Regions from separate parts of the Homo sapiens genome. Here region 2 is linked to region 1. Evidence: promoter capture Hi-C in 16 types of primary human blood cells and fetal thymus (Javierre and others, 2016). All regions are on one chromosome and are shown on one strand. The core of a region is centred on a gene start or on the middle of the fragment in contact, and the rest is flanking DNA. Distances in the headings are between cores, read along the strand shown.

Region 1 (4,502 bases), core at 1,032-3,531:
GAAGGTAAGGCTGATCATATAGGGACAAGGAGCAGTAGATTGGTGAATATGGCAGAACGCCAAGTAAAACCTTCTTGCAATCCCTCCCATTTCCCCCAGAAACTTCTGGCGTGGTTTTATACACATAAAGCAATACAAATGTAATGCTGAAGTTCATTTTGCTTAGCAGTTCAGTGAGTACAAGTTTGTTTGAAAATGATTGTTTCATGCACTGTTAAAAATGATGGTAAGATTTTATGGAAGTTCCAGAAAGTTGTGAGATTGAAAGAAGAATAATTTACCAGATAAGATTGTGTATGGGTAAACATAAGAACATTACCAGGTATAAAATTATATAGTTAACTGCAACCTAATGAATATCTTCCAAAATAATAGCTTTCATTGTTAACTATTGGGTTATCTAAAGTAATAGGGAGGAATGTTTAAAAATGTAGGGCTACTTGGGCACTATGGGCATCATAGACTATCATCAAATTCAGAAGTATTTCAGTGACTTTTTCAGCAGAATATTGTGAGAACAATATTAATAGAAACAAGTTTCACTTTTCTAGAAATGTATCTATGAGTATTTTGAGACCTCTGAGGAATGGGGGGAAAAAAGATATGTAGATTTTTTTTTTTATTTCAATCAAGTTCTATTTCATTACATGTTGTTTGACTTCTCTTTAGGTACAATTAATTCTCATCCGACAGCACAGGCACAGTTGTTCAGTTGGTCAATTAATGTTTTCTTTTGTTTAATAATGCAATTATAATGTATTACATCTGATTTTTGTTTAATAATGCAGTTATATATGATTTAGCCCTCATTCTATTTTAAACTCTTCTCTGTCTTTCATCCTAGCAGAGCTATGATTCGGAAGTTGTCTTAAATACATGGATTTGATTTTTGGCCAGGAAGTTAGTTCTGTGTTGTCATTGGGATGGTGTGTTTTAGAAAAGAAAATAGATCTAGTAGAGTTATTAAATAAGAAATACAGTTCCAGAGACATCCTTACTAAATCATTATGCAAATTACAAAGTGTTGACTATAAGCCTGTCTTTATATGTTTATATGGATCAAATAATTGAATTTGAAGACTTCAGTAAGCTGTGTGTATATATCGCATAATTATTGGTATAATAATTACTCCATTTTATCCTTCTTTTGGGTATAGTATTGGTGATGCACAATGAGGAAATGTAAAAGAATATGAAGGCTAGAGCCAGCCGTATGTGTGCAGCTTTTGCACGGCAACTTTTAGGCAAGTGGGAATTTTGTGGGGAGCTTGGATAACTCCTCAGCTATGTACTTTACCTGTTTCAATATAGGGTTTAGCACAAATGTGTTTATACATGGAAATACGTAGGTTTACAGCTTGGCTTTTAACATGCTTATTATGTGATCACTAGTAAAATAACCAGTGACTTGAAAATTATTTGTAGGGTGTGTATAGTGTGTCATCAAAATGGTTCATCTATCAATAATATCAATAATCAATCTCAAAGACAAAAAGGGTTCCTTTTCCAGAACTAGTCATTTTGACCCTGTCATTCTGCTTTTAAGAATTTTTCTCAAGGAAATATCCCAAAGTGCAGATTTTTTAAACAGCCATGATTCATGAAGATGTTAATAAAATTTTATTTAGTAGAGAAAAGACATAATGAATGGAACAATATGTAGCTTTTTTTTCCTCTATTTTGGAAAATATTGTGCAAACATAAAATTTGTTAAAATATATAACAATTGGAGGAAATAGGACAAATTTTAGAATCCATGTTTCATATAGTGGTTTAAAATATCCTCACTCAAAAAGATACACATACTTATGTATATATAGTTCGCTTTTGCAGAGAGGTAGAAAATCTACCAAAATGCAAATGGTAATGGTCTTTCGACCATAAAAACATATGCCATTTTTTTTCAAAAGGCACTTTAAACATTCATCAAATAATTTGACTTTTATGTAAAATGCTGGTGTGATGGTACGTACCTTGAGTTTGAACAATGAGCCAAAGTACAGGCAGCAGGACCCAAGACATGGTGGCCACTGCAGGTAGCTGGGAGATCCCACGCAGCATGAAGTTGTGGTCTCCCCAGTGTCCAGTTTTATCTTCTCCAATTTCTCTTTAGAAGTTGAACAAGAAAATTAAAACCCCCACTTTTCGTGTGAGATTGGGGAATGTTTCTTAAGAGTGTTGGGAAATTGTCAAAAAATTGCAGTGTCAACATCATGAGAATGTTCCTCATCTTTGAGAGATATTTATGGCTGTGGTTATAGCTCATTGAGGACTCACATCTGGACACTGTTTGCCCCTGGTGCTCCTATAAGCAGTGGGAATGTGTGAACTGAGACTGAGGTGGTCGCGTGCATATCTACATACTCACCAAACTGGACCATTACGATTGTTGTTCAGTATCCTTATAGAAATAAATCCACATATTTAGGACATATATCAGTATTCTGTACATATTTTGAGATACTGTCACAGTGAACACAGAATCTAAAAAGCACCAGGTAAAGTCCTACAAACCAAGATACTGAAAATCTCTCTAACATTCAGTCTCCTAATGAGTCAACAGGGGATGCTGATAATTTTAACTGCCTCAAGATTCTTATAAAATTCATATGCATTTGCACACACACATATGCACATGCATGTAAAATTGTAAAGAAATGTGCATGTATAAGAAATGTACAAGAAATTTAAATAACCTTGACAGTGCTGGCCTTAACCGAACTATACAACATATGAAGTATGTTCGAGGTGTACTTTCTGAGTTCTACCTTATACAATAACAATGTTTCTCTGACAAATATGGTAGATTTTCATGATTATAATATCACAAGTTTATTATGAGAAAAAAGTTGACTGCCAATGATCCGACATCAAGAAATAACTTCTGTTAACGTTTTTACAATTTATTTTCATCTTCTTATGCAGAAAAGGAAAGCTAACCTTATTGGGCAAAGGGTTTAAGAAACTTATTTTTTTTTCCATGGCACTATGACATAAGCATTCTCATGACATTGAATATTAAGACATAATTTTAGTGATTTTAGAATATCATATTTTCTACATATGTGTGTGTTGAGTGTCCATGTAATGTTTGGTTGTGTATATTTCTTTAATTGAATTTCTGGTGACTTCAGGATAAATGTCTAGAAGTGCTATTATTTAGCTAAAAAGGGTAAATCAACTTGAGATTATTGATAAACATTGACTCAGTGCTTTTCAGAAAGTTAGGGCCAAATTAAATCATTATGTATAGTTTTCCCAATCTAAAAACCCATACCTTCTAACTGCTGAACTTAACTTTTCACTGATACATCTGGGAGTTTCCTAACATCTAATTGGAACTTTAAAAATCCCCTCTCTATGTCTATTCTTCACTTTGTTGCTGTTCTACCTTCCTTTAAAATAGTAACATTTTCTCTATAATTTTGCATTTCTTTTTCTGGTCCAGAGATAGGCATCCTTCTTATATCCTTTATGACCCGCCATTAATATTTTAACAAAGTATAATGCTAATTATGTCTCTATCATCAAATAATAAAAGAATCCTGGAATGGTGAACTCTTATCAGTGCCCTACCCTTTAGCACATTACATGTTGTTGTCAAGTATTTTAGTTTATCATGATTTTGACCCCCATGTTACTCATTATTTTTGTGTGTGTTTTCTACAGATGTTTGAAATTATTCATGTGTACCACCTTCTTTGCTCGCAGGTCCTTTTAGCATCAGTTATTTTTTTTTTAATTCTTCATTAAACATATTCTTTTTTATTATTTCTATAGGTTTTTGGGGAACAGGTGGTATTTGGTTACATGAGTAAGTTCTTTAGTGGTGATTTGTGAGATTTTGGTGTACCCGTCACCTGAGCAGTATACACTGAACCCAATTAGTAGTCTTTTATTCCTCACTGGCTTCCCATCCTTTCCCCCTGAGTCCCCAAAGTCCATTGTATCATTCTTATGTCTTCACATCCTCATAGCTTAGCTCCCACTTATAAGTGAGAACATACAGTGTTTAGTTTTCTGTTCCTGAGTTACCTCACTTAGAATAATAGTCTCCAATCCCATCCAGGTTGTTGCAAATGACATTAATTCATTCCTTTTCATGAATGAGTAGTATTCCATCAAATACATGGTGTATATGTGGTGCATATATATGGTATATATGCATGTATGTATGGTATACATCATATATGTGTGTGTGGTATATACATATATACACCAGTTTCTTTATCTACTCTTTGAATGATGGGCATTTGGGCTGGTTCCACGTTTTTGCAATTGTAAATTTTGCTGCTATAAACATGCAATACACAATGAAATACCACCTTACTCACATAAGAATGGCCATTATAAAAAATAAAAAAATCATAGATGATGTTGGTGTGGATGCAGTGAAAGGGAACACTTCTACACTGCTGGCTGGAATGGAAACTAATACAGCCACTATGGAAAACAGTGTGGAGATTCCATAAAGAGCTAAAAGTCTAACTACCACTTGATTC
Region 2 (4,594 bases), core at 1,183-3,682, 65 kb after region 1:
TCCCCTCTGGACCAGCTTTCTGTTGGGATTTGGTCTTCAGCATTTTCTTAGCGGATTTTTGGAAAATACAATGCACCCATGTAGCTTTTATGTCTTCTTATACCTGAGAATACTGTGGCAGGTAAATAAGAAAAGTGTTGGTTTGTGGTATTAATATTCATGTTCACCTATGTAGCAAAAGTTGTGGTCATCCTTTGGGAGCCAGTCAGCCACATTGGTCTCAAATGTCTTGACTTTGCTTCCATGCTTCATGTGCGTTCATTGAAAAACCCAGTGACATCTCCCAGCAAACTGTTTAAAACTGCAGGTAATAAAATATGTCTTACCATGTTGACATAATTAGCCATCTCAAATACCCTCTTTCTGATCTCATCTTGATTCTCATTGTACCTTTTAAACTAAAAGAAAAATTAAGAAAGAATATGGGCATTGATAAAAATGAATATACTTGGAAGGTTAAAAAGGCATCTTCTCTTATATTACTTATTATTGATTTTAATTAAAGATTAGTTATTAGATTTAATTAAAAGTTAGAATCAAATTAATTCCTATTCATCTAGCTACATTAAAGCACTTTGGGAGTGAATATGATGTTTTCTCTTCTGAAGTACTAGCTCAGTATAAAGCTCTAAAGAATTACTCCAAATGTATTTTCACTTAAATTCTATGGTTTTCTAAGGTGTGCAGAATTAACAGAAGGAATATCTTATTAATTTAAGAGACACATACATGAACAGTACATGAATTAAGCACAGTAAGTAAGACCAAAGCTTTAGGGCCTGAGCTAATGGTTGACTTATATTTTCATACACATGTGCATTTTAAATTTTGAAAACACAGTATATGAAAATGCATTCTTACAGTAGAAGATAAACAGTGACTATTACCAAAGATTTGCCTTTTCAGAGGATTCCATTCACTAAGCTTTCATTGTGACCAATTAAGCTTTTGTATTGACTCCCTAATGAGAATAAAGTTTAATTTACAAATGATTTAACAACTTAACAAAAGACAAAATGACAGAAGAATGTAATTGGAAACTAAGTTGGGTACTCTTAAGTCAATAAGAAAATAGTGTTATAAGTGCCAACAATTTATGCATATCATATCAATTGCCCTGATCGCTCTGAAAAGAAGTCATATCAGCTTAATTATAAATGTCAAATTTCATAGTTTTAGAAGAACATGTAACCATAGCTCATATTCATGATTCTTTAAATCTCATCCAGATATTTAATGTCTCACATAATAAATAAATATATGTGGGTGGGAGTTTTGGAAGACAGCACATTTATCTCATATAATTACCTCACCATTATCCAGGACCAAATAATATTCTATGTATTTCTCATGTTCCTGAACCTTCCTGTCTTTCAATTTCTGAAATATAAAGAGTAGAATTACTGATACAATATTGTTTTCTGCAAAAGTTCTTCTATTATTTGACATCTGTAATTTTATAAGCAGTTGGTTGATATCTGGAGTAAAGGCAGACAATATTAGCATTTTAACACCAATTCAACCGACAGGATTATCTACTGACAAGGCTCATAAATTTGGAGGTGAAGGGACACCAGCAATATTCTGGTCTGATTCCTTCCTTTTATCAAGGGGTCTAAATTATGTTACAATAGGGGAGCTAGAAATAAAACCAGTCTTTCTATTGTTTTGAACAGTAGACTTCTTCACCATCCTGACACAAAATAGAGAAAGTTTGACTTCAGCATCCTCCTAGTGTTTTTAGTCAGTTTGTTTTTTTGTTTTCTTTGGTAGCCTTTAATTCATATCCTGGTGAAATACATGCTCCGTTATCAATGGTGCAATGCAGAGACACCATTGTTTCTAGTCTACTTTGTTCTCTTCAGGCAGAGTTGAATCTCCTTCCCATGTTTCAAACTTACCAATGTTCTGTTCCTTTCTCTATCTCAAAAAAAAAAAAAGTTACATAGTGGATTGACTCATTGAAAAGGGACCAACAGATTATTCCTACTAAATAATAGCTCATCAAAGTTTATTAGATTGCATTTCTGGAAGTGCATGTCTTTTAATAGGTAACTAAAGTTCGATTACAAAGAAGAAACTCCTGAAGATAGATTTTTAGGTATTATCTGATGAGACATGTACTTACTTCCTACCCTCCATGGGAACGAAATATTTATTAGCACTTACAATACACTGAGAGTGCTCTGGGAACTGCAAATGCAGTAGTGAAATCACCATGTGAGCTCCATCAGCAGAGAGACCAAGAGACAAACATAAACATATCAGATGGTGGCCAGTACTATGTGAAGGATTAAAGTGGGCATGTGACATTGAGTTACTAGGTAGTTATTTCAGAATAGGTGAAATTCTCTAAAGAGCTGGCCCTCAAGCAGATGTATTAACGAAAATGAGAAGCCAGGCAAGGAAAGAGAAATTGGAAGACAATTCCAGCAGGGAAAAAAAATGAGTAAATAGACTCCAAGGTGAAATAGTATTGGCATATTTAGAGCATAGAAAAAAAGTGCTTGTGTTTTTATAACATAATGGGGGAGGTCACCAAGAGACGGGGAGTAAAGAGTAGGAGGAGACCAGAGAGGTCTATGGGACCACAATCGTATAGGGGTTTGTGACCCATGGTCAGTTGTGTGGCTTTTATACTAAATGCAATGGGAAGACATCGGAGGGCTTTGAGCAGAAAACGGATGTGATGTGATTTACAATAAAAATAGCACTGGATTGATTGTGTGGAGTGTGGATTCTGCTGAACGAGGATGGGCAGGTCAGGCAGAGGCTGTTGCCATGGTTATTATGAGATGGCACCTTGGGGTAGTCAGAAAAGGGAGCAAAGTAAAAGATCTGAAATATGTCGGAGGCACTTGCTGATGGATACCATATAAGGCGGGATGAAGAAAAAGAGAATCAAGGATAATTTCTAGATCCAAATTTGAACAAATGATGAGTGGTGGTAGTGTTAAGTAAAATGGGGAGAATGAGAGAGAAGTAGGTTTTGTTTGTGGTTTAGAAATTGGTAGTTCTTTTGGGGGCATATTTTAGGTTTGTGATATCAGGTGTTTGAGTAGATATATTAAAAAGATAATTATAACAGTCTGGCCTTTAGGAGAGGGGCAGAGGCTAGAGATAAACGTCTGATGGCCATTAGTGCACAGTTCCTATTTAAATAAGGCACAGGGCAGGGTAAGATTACCTAGGAAGAATGTATAGATAAAGATCCAGGATTGAGCTATGTGAGGTTCTCTAATATTTACCAGTCAATCAGAGTAAGGGTGACAGAAATGAAATGAGGAGTAGCACTCCTGAGGTAGAGGAAAGCCAAAACGATAAAATGTCTCAAAAGCAAAGCTCTTTCCACGTAGTTACCAAGGAATGGAAACAGAGGGATAAGAGGCCCTGTACAAGCAAACCCAGGAGTTGATATTCACAGCAACATATAGCTAGGAGTTTCACCAACTTCTGGCCAATCAAAGGTGGCCAACTGTTCAAACCGTGTTCAAGTAAGGCAAACATCAAGCTGTAACCGGTGCAGCTGTTTCTGTACCTTAATCCATTTTTCTGTATGTCATTTTTCTGTCTATAAATCCTCTCCAACCAACGACCAGCATGGAATTGCTCTCAACATCTTCTGGTTCTGAGGGCTGCTGGATTCTCAAACCTTTCTTTGCTCAATTAAACTCTGTTAAATTTGTCTACTTTTTGTCCTTAACAGTCCTCATATTGTACCCTAGATCTTTCAACTGCTTAACCCCGCATATTTGGCTACTTGGTATCCTTAGACCCGAATCTCCCCATTTCCTGTCCCTACCTAGACCCTGGTAACCACTGTTTTATTCTCTACCTCTATATATTTGACACTCACCCTCACCCCCTTTTTTAGATTCCTTTTCATTTTGTTTGTTTGCTTTGCTGTGCAGAAGCTTTTTCGTTTGATATAGTCTCTTACATTTTACTTTTATAACCTTAGCTTTTAGGTATGATATTTAAGAAGTCATTGTCAAGGTTAATGTCAAACAGCTTTTCCCCTCTATTTTCTTTTAGGAGTTTTATGGTTTTAGGTATTACATTTAGGTTTCTTTTTCATTTTGATTTGAATTTTAGTTATGGTATAAGAAAAGGGTTCGATTTCATAATTTTGCATGTGGATATCCAGTTTTCCCAGCACTATTTATTGAAGAGACTATCCTTTCCCCAGTGTGTCTTTTTGGTGCCCTTGTCAAAAATTAATTGAACGTATATGTTTGGATTTATTTCCGAGATTGCTATTCTCATCCACTGGTCTAGGTGTCTGGTTTTATGCCATTATACTCTTTCGATTACTATATCTTTGTAATATAACTTTAAATCAGGTAGTATGATGTCTTTTTTTTTCTCAGAATTCCTTTGACTATTTGGGATATTCTGTGGTTCCATACAAATTTTATGATTTTTTTCTGATTTCTGTAAATACTGTCATTGGGGTTTTTATAAGGACTGCATTGAATCTACTCATTGCTTTAGGTAGTATGAACATTTTAACAACATTCTTCTAATTCATGAGCATGGGATATTCATTTATTTGCATTTTCTTCAATTTCCTTCATTAATGTTTTATTGTCTT

Evidence for each region. Contacts are between HindIII fragments. The CHiCAGO score rates a contact against its expected background, and 5 or more counts as called.
Region 2: a fragment that was not itself captured here is called in contact with the fragment with the promoter of ADAMDEC1 in region 1 in 2 of 17 cell types (total B cells and naive B cells); the score reaches 6.1 in total B cells.

The regions. Positions count from the first base shown.
Region 1 is chr8:24,382,064-24,386,565 of GRCh38, reverse strand. It overlaps ADAMDEC1 (ADAM like decysin 1), which reads right to left and starts at 2,281. Exons shown (of 14, transcript NM_014479.3): 1 at 1,974-2,281. The coding sequence starts at 2,061. The region is part of intron 3 of ADAM7-AS1 (ADAM7, ADAMDEC1 and ADAM28 antisense RNA 1); the gene reads left to right. The HindIII fragment of the contact is 13,825 bases long and covers 1-4,502 here.
Region 2 is chr8:24,317,022-24,321,615 of GRCh38, reverse strand. It overlaps ADAM28 (ADAM metallopeptidase domain 28), which reads right to left. Exons shown (of 23, transcript NM_014265.6): 7 at 1,309-1,380; 8 at 327-398. All of the region lies in intron 3 of ADAM7-AS1 (ADAM7, ADAMDEC1 and ADAM28 antisense RNA 1), which reads left to right. Among named protein-coding and RNA genes, the nearest start is that of ADAM28, 25 kb to the right of the region's middle. The HindIII fragment of the contact is 2,969 bases long and covers 948-3,916 here.